2 separate regions of the Homo sapiens genome follow, and region 1 is linked to region 2. The links are contacts of gene promoters, found by promoter capture Hi-C in blood cells and fetal thymus (Javierre and others, 2016). All regions are on one chromosome and are shown on one strand. Each heading gives the region's core, a stretch centred on a gene start or on the middle of the fragment in contact. The rest is flanking DNA. Distances are from core to core; before and after follow the strand shown. Region 1 overlaps OR4C11 (olfactory receptor family 4 subfamily C member 11). Region 2 holds the start of OR4S2 (olfactory receptor family 4 subfamily S member 2).

Region 1 (5,764 bases), core at 2,890-5,389, 47 kb after region 2:
GTCTGGCAAATGTGTTGTAAATGTATTTTATCATATTGACACTTCCCTTTTAATTTTTTACTGTGTTGCTATTTGGAATATATATGTGAAAAAGTATATGGAAAAATTTGTTCAATATTTGAAATATGCAAATAAATATTAATTCCCATTATATATTTAACTTCTCTTTCTTGAAGTCAGGATATGGGATTCATAAGAACATACAAACTAAAAATTCTATTGAAAGTTTCAGTCCTGACTTGGAGCGCATAGATCTCATTTTCTAAATCACTGATGCTTACCTGCAAACCTGAAATTTGAAAGAATGTCCTGATTTATGTGTCAATTATTCTTCCACTTTTTTCCTCATTTTAGCCTCAGTGTCTACTTGTCTCTTAAGAAAACTTTATGAAGAACCCAGAAAAATAAGGAAAGATGGACGAATTTAACTTTGGACAACACAGTATAACAAAGCAGTACAAAGTTGAATAATAAAGGATGAATTTGGAACTGAAAATAATTAGAAAATTTTCAGAGGTAAATTAAAAGGAAATAAAGATAGTCAAGGCAAGAGGTTAAAATAATTCTCATGTTGGACTGTAATGATTGACTTTTTGCTCATTGCAAAAATTTTATGTTTATTGTCTCTTTCTCTGTGTATGTGTGTGTGTGTGCACACACACCCACATACATGTAAATTTTATTAAGGAAGGTATTCTCAAGTATTTAAACAACATCATTAGAATGATCTGTATATTTAGGAAGTAAATATATTATAATGGTACTGTCAGGTTCAAATAATGTGAAAGCCTATTGTAGTAAGTCATGTACATTTTCATCTGTTACCGCAACACAGTACAAAATATTTATTATTCTTGGCTATAAGCTAAAGGAACACATTCAGCTCAGAAGACACCTACTCATACCAAACCCCTAAATTAATGTTTACTTTGTTTGAAAAATCATTTGCTTTTAAGTTATTTTTCTATTTCTAATTGTATTATTTTCATGTGTAATTTTGTCATGCCACTGCAGTCCAGCCTAGAGGACAGAGCGACATTCTGTTTCAAAAATAATAATAATAATATTTTGGTAAATATATTGAATAGTTACTATGAATTCCATTTCACTCAGAAAAAAATACAAAGAATTGTCAATAATAAGCCATTGGAAAGTTGCAATTTCATTGCAAGAATATGTATTTGACCTCTAAATTTAGAATCTATTTCTTTTTTTCTTTTGCAGATTAACTAGTTCTAATCTGTGGTTTCTTCACATCAACTGAAACAATGCAGCAAAATAACAGTGTGCCTGAATTCATACTGTTAGGATTAACACAGGATCCCTTGAGGCAGAAAATAGTGTTTGTAATCTTCTTAATTTTCTATATGGGAACTGTGGTGGGGAATATGCTCATTATTGTGACCATCAAGTCCAGCCGGACACTAGGAAGCCCCATGTACTTCTTTCTATTTTATTTGTCCTTTGCAGATTCTTGCTTTTCAACTTCCACAGCCCCTAGATTAATTGTGGATGCTCTCTCTGAAAAGAAAATTATAACCTACAATGAGTGCATGACACAAGTCTTTGCACTACATTTATTTGGCTGCATGGAGATCTTTGTCCTCATTCTCATGGCTGTTGATCGCTATGTGGCCATCTGTAAGCCCTTGCGTTACCCAACCATCATGAGCCAGCAGGTCTGCATCATCCTGATTGTTCTTGCCTGGATAGGGTCTTTAATACACTCTACAGCTCAGATTATCCTGGCCTTAAGATTGCCTTTCTGTGGACCCTATTTGATTGATCATTATTGCTGTGATTTGCAGCCCTTGTTGAAACTTGCCTGCATGGACACTTACATGATCAACCTGCTGTTGGTGTCTAACAGTGGGGCAATTTGCTCAAGTAGTTTCATGATTTTGATAATTTCATATATTGTCATCTTGCATTCACTGAGAAACCACAGTGCCAAAGGGAAGAAAAAGGCTCTCTCCGCTTGCACGTCTCACATAATTGTAGTCATCTTATTCTTTGGCCCATGTATATTCATATATACACGCCCCCCGACCACTTTCCCCATGGACAAGATGGTGGCAGTATTTTATACTATTGGAACACCCTTTCTCAATCCACTCATCTACACACTGAGGAATGCAGAAGTGAAAAATGCCATGAGAAAGTTATGGCATGGCAAAATTATTTCAGAAAACAAAGGATAAATTGAGGGCCTGACCTGATTACTTTTTCAGTCAAATCATGATTTAACAGAGTAAGTATAGACAGCAAATAGGAAAGTACCTGAATGCTGTGGGAATAATATATCATCGTATCTAAGTTTGTGGGTTCCTATGTTTTCTAGTTAACAGGAGTTGTGACTACCAAGACATTGTCTTTTGTGCCAGAACTAGGTAGAATATAGATTAATTCAGGTGATTACCTACCAGTAGTCTTTTCTTTTCAGATTATCTTCCTTTCCAGCCATGCATTTTCTAAAGTGTAAGCCTGACTATCTCTATGCACTCTAATCTAATGCATCTGATTTTCTTACTTCTTTCCTGTGCTTTTGACCACAGACTGATAAACTCCCTGAAATCTTCAATTTGGCTCTTCCTTTTCCTAAGAGCCCAATTCTGCCATTGCTGGTTGTGAACTACACATCACAACTCTGTCTACACTCTGGTTTAATAAAAAGAAAGACATTTATACAATCACAAGTGTTCAAATTTGTGAGCACCAACAAAGAAATGTCAAATTCCTTCCCTAATGCATTTGCAATAAGGTATCAAGCTTCCTCCTGAACACTTCTAGGGAAAAGGAACTAACTCAGTATATCAAGATGCCCATTTACATTTTATCACTACTTTGTATTTAAAAAGTTCTGTATTTTTGAGTCAGAGGCTAATATACTGGAGATACAACATATTTCCTGAGCCTGAAGTGCAGAAGGGTAGAACATGGTTGAAACCAAAAATGGTATGATCTATTGTGTTTAAAGTTGGGTGATGTCAATGAAATAAATAAAATTATCACAGGAATTCAGAAAACACTCAGGACACTTGTCTCTAGTGGGTTCTCCCTAAACAGGGAACCCACTACTGCTATAGGAAGTTACATCTCTATTTATTCTGTCCTAATAATTGGGGCTGCATAGAATCACAAGTTAGAATTGGCAATGGAATTTTCATGCCCAGAGTGAGGACAGCAGATAAAAAGCGGCACTTTAGATATTCATATTATGGACTTTTAATATTCATCTGTTTCAGTGTAATAAGTGTACCACATCTTTAATAACTGTTGACAGATTCAATTTCATTTTTAACCTTATTTATCATTATTTAATGAAAAATATTACCAATTGAAATTATTTTCTCCTGTCAAATATAAATTTAAAATAAATTCAATTAAATAACATGTTTTTTAATGTGCTCACTTCATTTTGTTTTCTGTGATGTAATGTTTCCAGTGTTCACACTAGTGTCCCAAAGTTGACATGTCATACACGAGAAAGGCCATATATTTAATAGACAATGGAAATGTAATGATTCCATTATTAACTTATCTAATATCCTTCACTACAACAACAAATGTACATACACACACACACACACACACATATGCACACACATACCATATAAAATCTTTTATGTTGATTTGCATTGCAGATAAATAATTGAACATTAAAAGTTAGGAAAAAGGTATATGGGTAAGCACAGGCACAGGAAAAAAAAGAAAACGAATAAACTAAAATATAAATAAATAAATCAAGATTGGAAAATATAATAAGAGGAAGCTATATGGGGAAGAATATTGAAATGTTTTGTGTATTGTAGAAGTACTATTAGTTAAATCGAAATGGAAAATAAAGATAAAATATTTTAAATGTTCTGCAACACCATATCCATTCAATGGGTAACTTTGGAGTGACCATCCTCCCTCAAAAGTGATTGACCTAAAAGAAAAAGTATGAATTCTGATTATCTCTTCATTTCAGGAACAAGTAGCGTTTAAATGTGTCCAAATTCTTTGTTTTTATTATACTTGTGTCTACTAAAATAATACAAAGTTTGGTATTTCTATTGAAAAATTAAATTTCAAGGTGAAAAATCTAAAGGTGAGAGAACTGAACAAATTAGTCCCTTGAGATTGTCTTGCTGAGAAGTAACAGCATTAAGGTTTTAACTCAGTTCTATATGTCTCCTATGTTGGTAAAAAAAAATCTTAATTCAAACATCTTTTCAAATGGCCAAAAATATAAAAAGTATAAGGAAGTTGATGCAGTGATTATGAATTGCACTTATTTTAACTTTAAGATGGGTGGTGGAATATAATGATTAAAGTAGTAAGCACTCTAGAGTCACACTACATAAATCCAAATCCTGGCTTTACCAATTTAAAGCCTTGTAACTTTAAGAAAAATATATGAAATCTTAGGCCTAATTTTTATCTGTAAATCAAAAGTTAAAATAGTTTATATTTAATTGGCTTGTCATCAGAATTAAAGAAAATGATATTCATAAAGAGCTTAAAAATAACAAATTTAATATGAACCGTTTTCACAATAAAATAGATTTTTCAAAAAATTAATTTAAATCTATGTTTTTATTACTATAAACCATCCATATTTATTAACGTTTTTCTTTTATTTTCAAAGAATGTCATTTATAATTTGAAATAAAATTTAACTGAAAATAATACCGTCAAGTTTTGTTTTAATAGGATTAAATAAAAACATAACAGAATTTTAAGCATATTGGTATCACTTTAAAATAAAAGGAGGGAGTCTTTATGGAACATGCTCCGGTATCTGCACATTTGCATCTTCAACTTTAAATAGTCCGTATGTAAAGGAAAGAGAGGAGTATCCTTCTGATATGAACATATAAGAGGGTAATCATAAAGTAGGGCAAAGGGATATCAATTTAAATTGGTTTCTGGCATGTAACTGAGGTTTAAAATAGGAGAGATAAGAGGTGAACAAACTCTAGATTATCATTTACATATAGTTATTAGCACATAAGCTGGAATAGTGTATTCTACTTTTCACTCTTCTGATTCCTTCTCTATTCTTCATTTCACCTGAATGCTGACACAAGGTGCAAGAGACAGATGATTGAAAATCTATTTATATTGAGGTCCCACAAGAACAATTTTTGGTTAATTGATTGGACTACTGAATACTTAATGAAATTTTCTTTCCTCTTTAACCTCCTTTTCCCTTGTCTTCCCATCTATTTTCTACCATGGTTATACACACACTTTTAGAAGACACCATTGAGAAGCAGTGTTGTAAAAACAAAGTAAAATTAGAGAGGAACATATATGGGTAGATAAGCATATAAAAATATGCTTAACACTATGTGTTATTAAGGAATTGTGAATTAAAACAATGAGATACAACTACACCCCTATTATAATGACCAGAATTCAAAATAATAACAACACCAAATGTTGACAAGGATGTGGGACAACAGGAACTCTTATACATTGCATAGAAAGGGAAATGAAAATTGACATTGAAGAAGCTTAAAGTTTTCCAAATAGGTTGAACCTAAAAATATCATTATAAAGACACATTGTAAATAAAATATTAGAATGAAAAGACAAAGAGGTTGATCATGGAAAGTAATGTTAGCAGCATGGCAGAATAGGAGTTCTCCAGCTTCACTCCCCTGATGCTGACAGAAATTCAACTAGCAACTAACCAGAGGCAAAAAAATACTATAATGAGCATTCCAGAACTTGAGAGTGAGTCTGAGAAACCCTTTTGGACCAGAGAACTGAG
Region 2 (5,743 bases), core at 3,219-5,718:
TGAGAAATAGAGAACAGTGTTACTAAGTAGTTAACTTAGCATTGTGGGGGAAGTTATAGCCATCTGAGCAAGGACAGAGAAAACTAGCAAGTTAGTTCACTTGCAAAACTCCTGAGATGCTAAATGCTTGTAGCATACGATTCTACAGAATGTAGGAGTGAAACATACATTGTATTACATGAAAATTATTTTATTTCCACAGGCCATTTTCTACACAGACAGGTAAGAATTCCTCTATATTACTTCACAAAAGATTGGAGGTTTATTCTTTTGAAAGACTGAGCTAAATAATTCCCAGTATTAATGTGGAGGACAGTGATGAAACACGCATGCACAAGGATAAGTGAAATCTACAGTGTGAACTATGAGGCCCTTTCCTCTTGCTGCTCCCCAGATGTCAGCAGTCAGCACACATTACAACCTTATCAATTCCCCACTACTCTATACATAGCCTAGGCAGCAGGGTAGAGGATTGTTTATTTAGAAGGAAATATATGAGTGATACTGTACTGCCCGAAACCTCACAATTTAAGCCCAAAAATATGAAAACACTTCCCACACTTTTGGAAATTCTAAATTTTTTAAAATTTATTTCCTCCACTTTATACATATGGTGAGTTTCTGCTTTCAGGGATGATGATAAAACCAGTGAATAGCAAGGTAGGGTAATAGAAATCTGTCCTCAAAGGAAAGCCAAGAGGAATTGCTCTTCTGCACTTTTGTGATTCTAAGTTTAATAATATTTCTGTGTCATAGATATTTCAGGAAGTTATCTAATTATGAAATAGTATAAAAATGCTATAATAATGAAAAATAATACCTTACTCTTTTGAATGTGTTATTGTCTCATTTTTCCACTCCAAATCCCATGAGGTTGTTATTGTCTTGATTGCACAGATGAGTTAACCAAGGCTGAGAAATTTTAAGGTCATCTAGCTTAAATTATTAAGTCCAACTATTTCCCTTTAGCCTCCAAGAAAACATTTCTGCCCCACAGTTTCTTCATTGCATTCTTTACTTCTGCATTTCTCAGTGTATAAATCAGAGGATTTAACATGGGAGTGATAATGGTGTAAAATACAGCCACCATCTTATCCTCTGAAAAGGTCGTATCAGGGCGCATGTACATAAAAGTACAGGGGCCGAAAAAGATAACGACCATGGCAATGTGGGAGCCACAGGTGGAGAGGGCTTTGCGCCTGCCTTCTGCTGACTGCTTTCTCAGGGAAACTAGGATGATGCTGTAGGAGATTAGCAAGATAACAAAACTCCCCAGAGCAATGGTACCACTGTTGGCTGTCACAACAACACCAACAATGTATGTTTCTGTGCAGGCAAGTTTCAACACAGGGTGAACATCACAAAAGTAGTGATCTATCTCATTGGGTCCACAAAAGGGTAGTTGGACTACCAGAGCCACTTGGATAATGGAGTGTAAGAACCCACCTACCCACGTCCCTAATAACATTTTATTGCATGTCTCCCGGTTCATGATGGTCATATAATGTAGGGGTTTACAGATAGCCACATAACGATCATAGGCCATTACAGTAAGGATGAAGATCTCAGTGCAACCAAAGAAATGTACTCCAAACAGTTGCAACATGCACCCCACATAGGAGATGGTTTTGTCCTTTGCTAACAGGTCAACAATCATCTTGGGAGCTGTGACTGAAGAGTAACAAATGTCCACAAAAGACAAGAAGCTGAGAAAGAAATACATGGGTGACTTAAACAGGTTGCTCAGGCAAACTGTCAGCATGATGAGGAGATTTCCCAGAAGAATGATTATGTAGAAGAAAGAAAACACCACAAAACAAACTTTCTCAATCTCTGGGCTCTGAGAAAGACCCCAGAAAATGAATTCAGTTACGTTGTTTATTTTTTCCATGGAATGGGTCAAGTTCTTAGGAGACAATTAAATTACCTGAAAAAAAGAAAACATAAAAAGGACTGTATTTATTTTATTTCTAACGCAGAACCAACGGAAAATCACAGTAGATCAAAAGAGGAAAAAATGCTGATTGGCATGCATACTTGAAGAAATTGAAATGCATCTATTTTGATCATCTTACCTCAAGATAAGATCACATTCGTTCACTTCAGGTGAGAAAGCAAAATCCAGAGAGATAAAGTAAATCCCCTCAATCTCATATATATGTTACCACATGCCTCTCTTCTCTCACCTTTTATTAATGTTTATTTAGCTGTTTCTAAACTTTATTTAGTTTTTATTTTTTATACGACACTGAGTTTTGAAACAACTTCTGTATTTTGGGATATGGTAACATCTATGTTATCTACTGGCAAATATCTGGAAATGATTGCTTTATTTTTGACCCATAAGTGAAAACATACGCCCACATTTCACCTTTTGAATACTGCCATGCCTGATTATCACATCAACTCACAAATATTCTGCAATTTCTCTGCAAGTTTAACCACTCTTGCCTTTGCAAGTTCTTCTCATGAAACTCTATCTTTGTGCACATGATGTATGCACCTCCACCAGTGTGGTCTCGAGCCCTGATAGTCAAGATGTAGTGTGAGGTAATAGAAAGAGGAGCAAAATTACACAAAATTGATTCTAAAATGATACTACTGTAACCCCCAAGGTAAATTATTTAACTTAACAGAAATTCTCTTATCCCATTTGTGAAATGACAGTTTCAATTTCACTGTTACATATCACATTAATAGTTATTTCAGCCGTGAACTTAAATCACTTCTGTCAGTATGAAATATTCATAAAACCCTGATAGGAAGGCAGAAATAAGGTAAAGCAATAAAAGAAACTTCTAGAGACAAAGCAAGACCTGTTTGATTTGAAAGGAGAGGGAGTGAAGTCTTATGTAATTTCTCCATGTGCAAACTCAGAATACTTTAGGATTTTCCAGGACTGACTTTGCTTTGTATTTTTAAACATTTTTCTATTAACTGAAACGAAGAAAATGGGTGTAAAAAAGAGAAGACTGTCCCTTAATGTCAACATTGCTTCATACATCTTTCTAATCTTTCAAGTTTTATTCTGGCCATATTCATTCTCCCAATTTGGTCGATTTATATTTCTGGAAGAGATCATCACTGAATGACAATTTTAATGGGTTTAGGAAAATGACATTTATCTAAATGGATGAATATTCATTGGTGAAATTTCAGGCACTACAATGGGGTCATTGGTACATGGATGGAAAAGGGTATCTGTAATAGTTTTGATTAAAGGAGCTTTTAGGATTCTTTCGCTAATCAACCGCAGGTGTAAATGATCCCTCCAATTACAGGTGGTCTAGCAGAGACCTGTAGATCCTCTCAAGATCCATCCAGCTGAATGCTGACAACTCCTACTAAACTCTGTGCTCTCAGCTATCCTTATGCAGTGAAGTCGTGCCTAATACTTCCAGCTTTTGGGAATCTATAGGATTGTGTTTCTTCAGGTATTCATGTTAGAGTTGGCACAGTAGTCATTACAGGTGTGCTATCTCTTGTGCATTACAAAATAATGATTGTAAGAGTAATAGTAATATGATTTAGATACAGTCTCAAGCACATCCCCTGCTTTTACATGCTCATTCCTCTTCAGTTATCCTGCTGAATTAAAAGAAAAATACCATCCTCCACTAAGAGAGCCCCTCAACTTAAGGAAGCTCACAACATAGCAGTTTTGAGCAACAATTATTTATGTTGCTTTGCTCTCATCTAGAAGAAACTGGGCTTTTGCACACAAGCCTGAGGATTTTTTCCCCTACCGTCCATATCACAAGGTTCTAGAGGAATTTTTTTTTTCATTCACCAATCTATTTTATTCAGGTATTCATTTATCTTAATTGCAGGATTGAGATCTAAAGTTCCATTTATCAGAATGTGCATCCTAGTAAAGGCTGTTAACCTTCTGAATCATGGCCTCTCTTGACTCCAACTGATGCAGTAACATCTTGCTGTTTCTCTCCTTAAGCCAATATCCATCACAAGGATGCCTTCCTCCTTTATCTGGGCATGTTGGGCATAATGACTCACTTTCCTTTGAAATTATTGACATTTTCTTATTTGTGTCCATCCTACCCTTCCTCACAGTCATGTTTAGGTACATGTTACTATCTTACTATCATGATTTTAATAATTTCATTCTCTCTGTATTTCAGAGAACAATATTTTTCCATTATTTTATAAATGTTCAAAATCTAACAATTTAATTATCTTTTTCCACAAATATTCTGTATTCGTTTGAAAAGAAAAAAAAATCTCACCAGTATTTTCCAGAGCTTGAGTTCACTTTATGTTTCTATCTCTTCTTGAGTTAATTTGGGTGCAGCTTCCCAAGGTAAAGTAACAGTGATGCCTAGGGAATTCCTTTGTGAATAATTAGTACCGGAAAATACCTGACCCCCCAAACTGAAAGGCTGGTAGAAATGAGTCTTTGTTGTTCCTGGTTTTCTCACCTAATGATACCTGCCATTTCACAGGGTCTTTGACAATAAATGCTGTTTTCTCTATTCTTACAGGTCTATTTAAAGAGGAAGATGCAAAATGATAAATGACCTTGGAGACAGCTTTTCCCCAAAGTCTTCCTCCATAGTCAAAATCAAATTGCAGCCCTACCAATGAACTTTAATTCTAGTGTCTGTTCAATTTTTTAAAATTAAATTTTAAAAATTGTTGCTAAATACAAAAACCGATCAATTCTCATATTAACGACTATAGCCCTAATCCAAAGCAATTCAGCCAAGAGAAGTAATAATTTTATCATTCTAAACCTTGTTTTTGAATTAATATGCTTTACTATATGCATTAAATAGTCCATATTTGATATAACATATTAAGATATCTGTTTTATGTTATTTATTGAATTGTAATTGTTCTTTCTTGAAAGCTATATTGTAATAGAAAATAGTATATTCGATTGTGCTATTTGGGAACATTGCTTTTCTTCTTAATTGATTCTATGCTGATTTATGGAGAAATAGCTGGGATAAGGTTCATGTTTGGCCTATGCTTGGAATAAGTATGGTGTTGAATTTAATTCATTTACTTTTATATTGTAAATTCTTAAGGTTGACTCACGAAAACTAATAATAATCTTGCTTTTTCTCTTCCTATTTCTATTAGTTTCTTTCCCCATGCTTGACTTTTTTACTTTACTCTTCTTACCTTATCTTACCTTTTTCTTTATTTCAAACAACATCCAAAATGTCCAAGAGATCCTACTTATATTTTCACTATCTGGAGTTAGCAGAAGAAATGAGTGAAAAATAAAGAGTAGGAAGTAAAAGAGCAATTATGCCCAGGTTTGTGGAAACATTCATCATGATTAAGCTAGTGTGTTAGTTTCCTGTTGCTGCTGCAATGAATTACCACAAACTTAGTGGCTTAAATCAATACAAAGTCAGTATTTCACAGTTCTGCAGGTGAGAAGTCCAAAATGAGGCTCACTGGGCTAAAATCAAGGCATTGGAAAGGATGAATCCTTCCGAAGTCTGTAGGGGAAAACTCATTCTGTTCCAGCTTCTAGAATCTACCAGCTTCCTTATGGCCCCTTTCCTTCATCTCCAAAGCAGGCAGTGTAGCATCTTCAAATTTAACTTATTCTGCTTCACTTTCCCATTTTAAATAAACCTTGTGAATACGTTGAGCCCACATGGATAGTGCACGATAACATCTTTGTTTTAAGGTCAACTGACTAGCAAACTTAATTTTTATCTACAATCTTAATCACCTTATCATGTAACAAAATATATTGATAAGTTCT

Evidence for each region. Contacts are between HindIII fragments. The CHiCAGO score rates a contact against its expected background, and 5 or more counts as called.
Region 1: a contact is called between a fragment that was not itself captured here and the fragment with the promoter of OR4S2 in region 2, in 1 of 17 cell types (neutrophils). The highest score is 5.8, in neutrophils.

What each region holds. Positions count from the first base shown.
Region 1 is chr11:55,599,878-55,605,641 of GRCh38, reverse strand. OR4C11 (olfactory receptor family 4 subfamily C member 11) reads left to right here. Exons shown (of 4, transcript NM_001004700.3): 3 at 355-516; 4 at 1,225-3,282. The coding sequence starts at 1,269. The coding sequence ends at 2,201. Among named protein-coding and RNA genes, the nearest start is that of OR4C11, 4.9 kb to the left of the region's middle. The HindIII fragment of the contact is 2,735 bases long and covers 2,772-5,506 here.
Region 2 is chr11:55,647,052-55,652,794 of GRCh38, reverse strand. OR4S2 (olfactory receptor family 4 subfamily S member 2) reads right to left here and starts at 4,468. Exons shown (of 2, transcript NM_001004059.3): 1 at 4,245-4,468; 2 at 1-1,927. The coding sequence starts at 1,891. The coding sequence ends at 956. The HindIII fragment of the contact is 13,020 bases long and covers 1-5,743 here.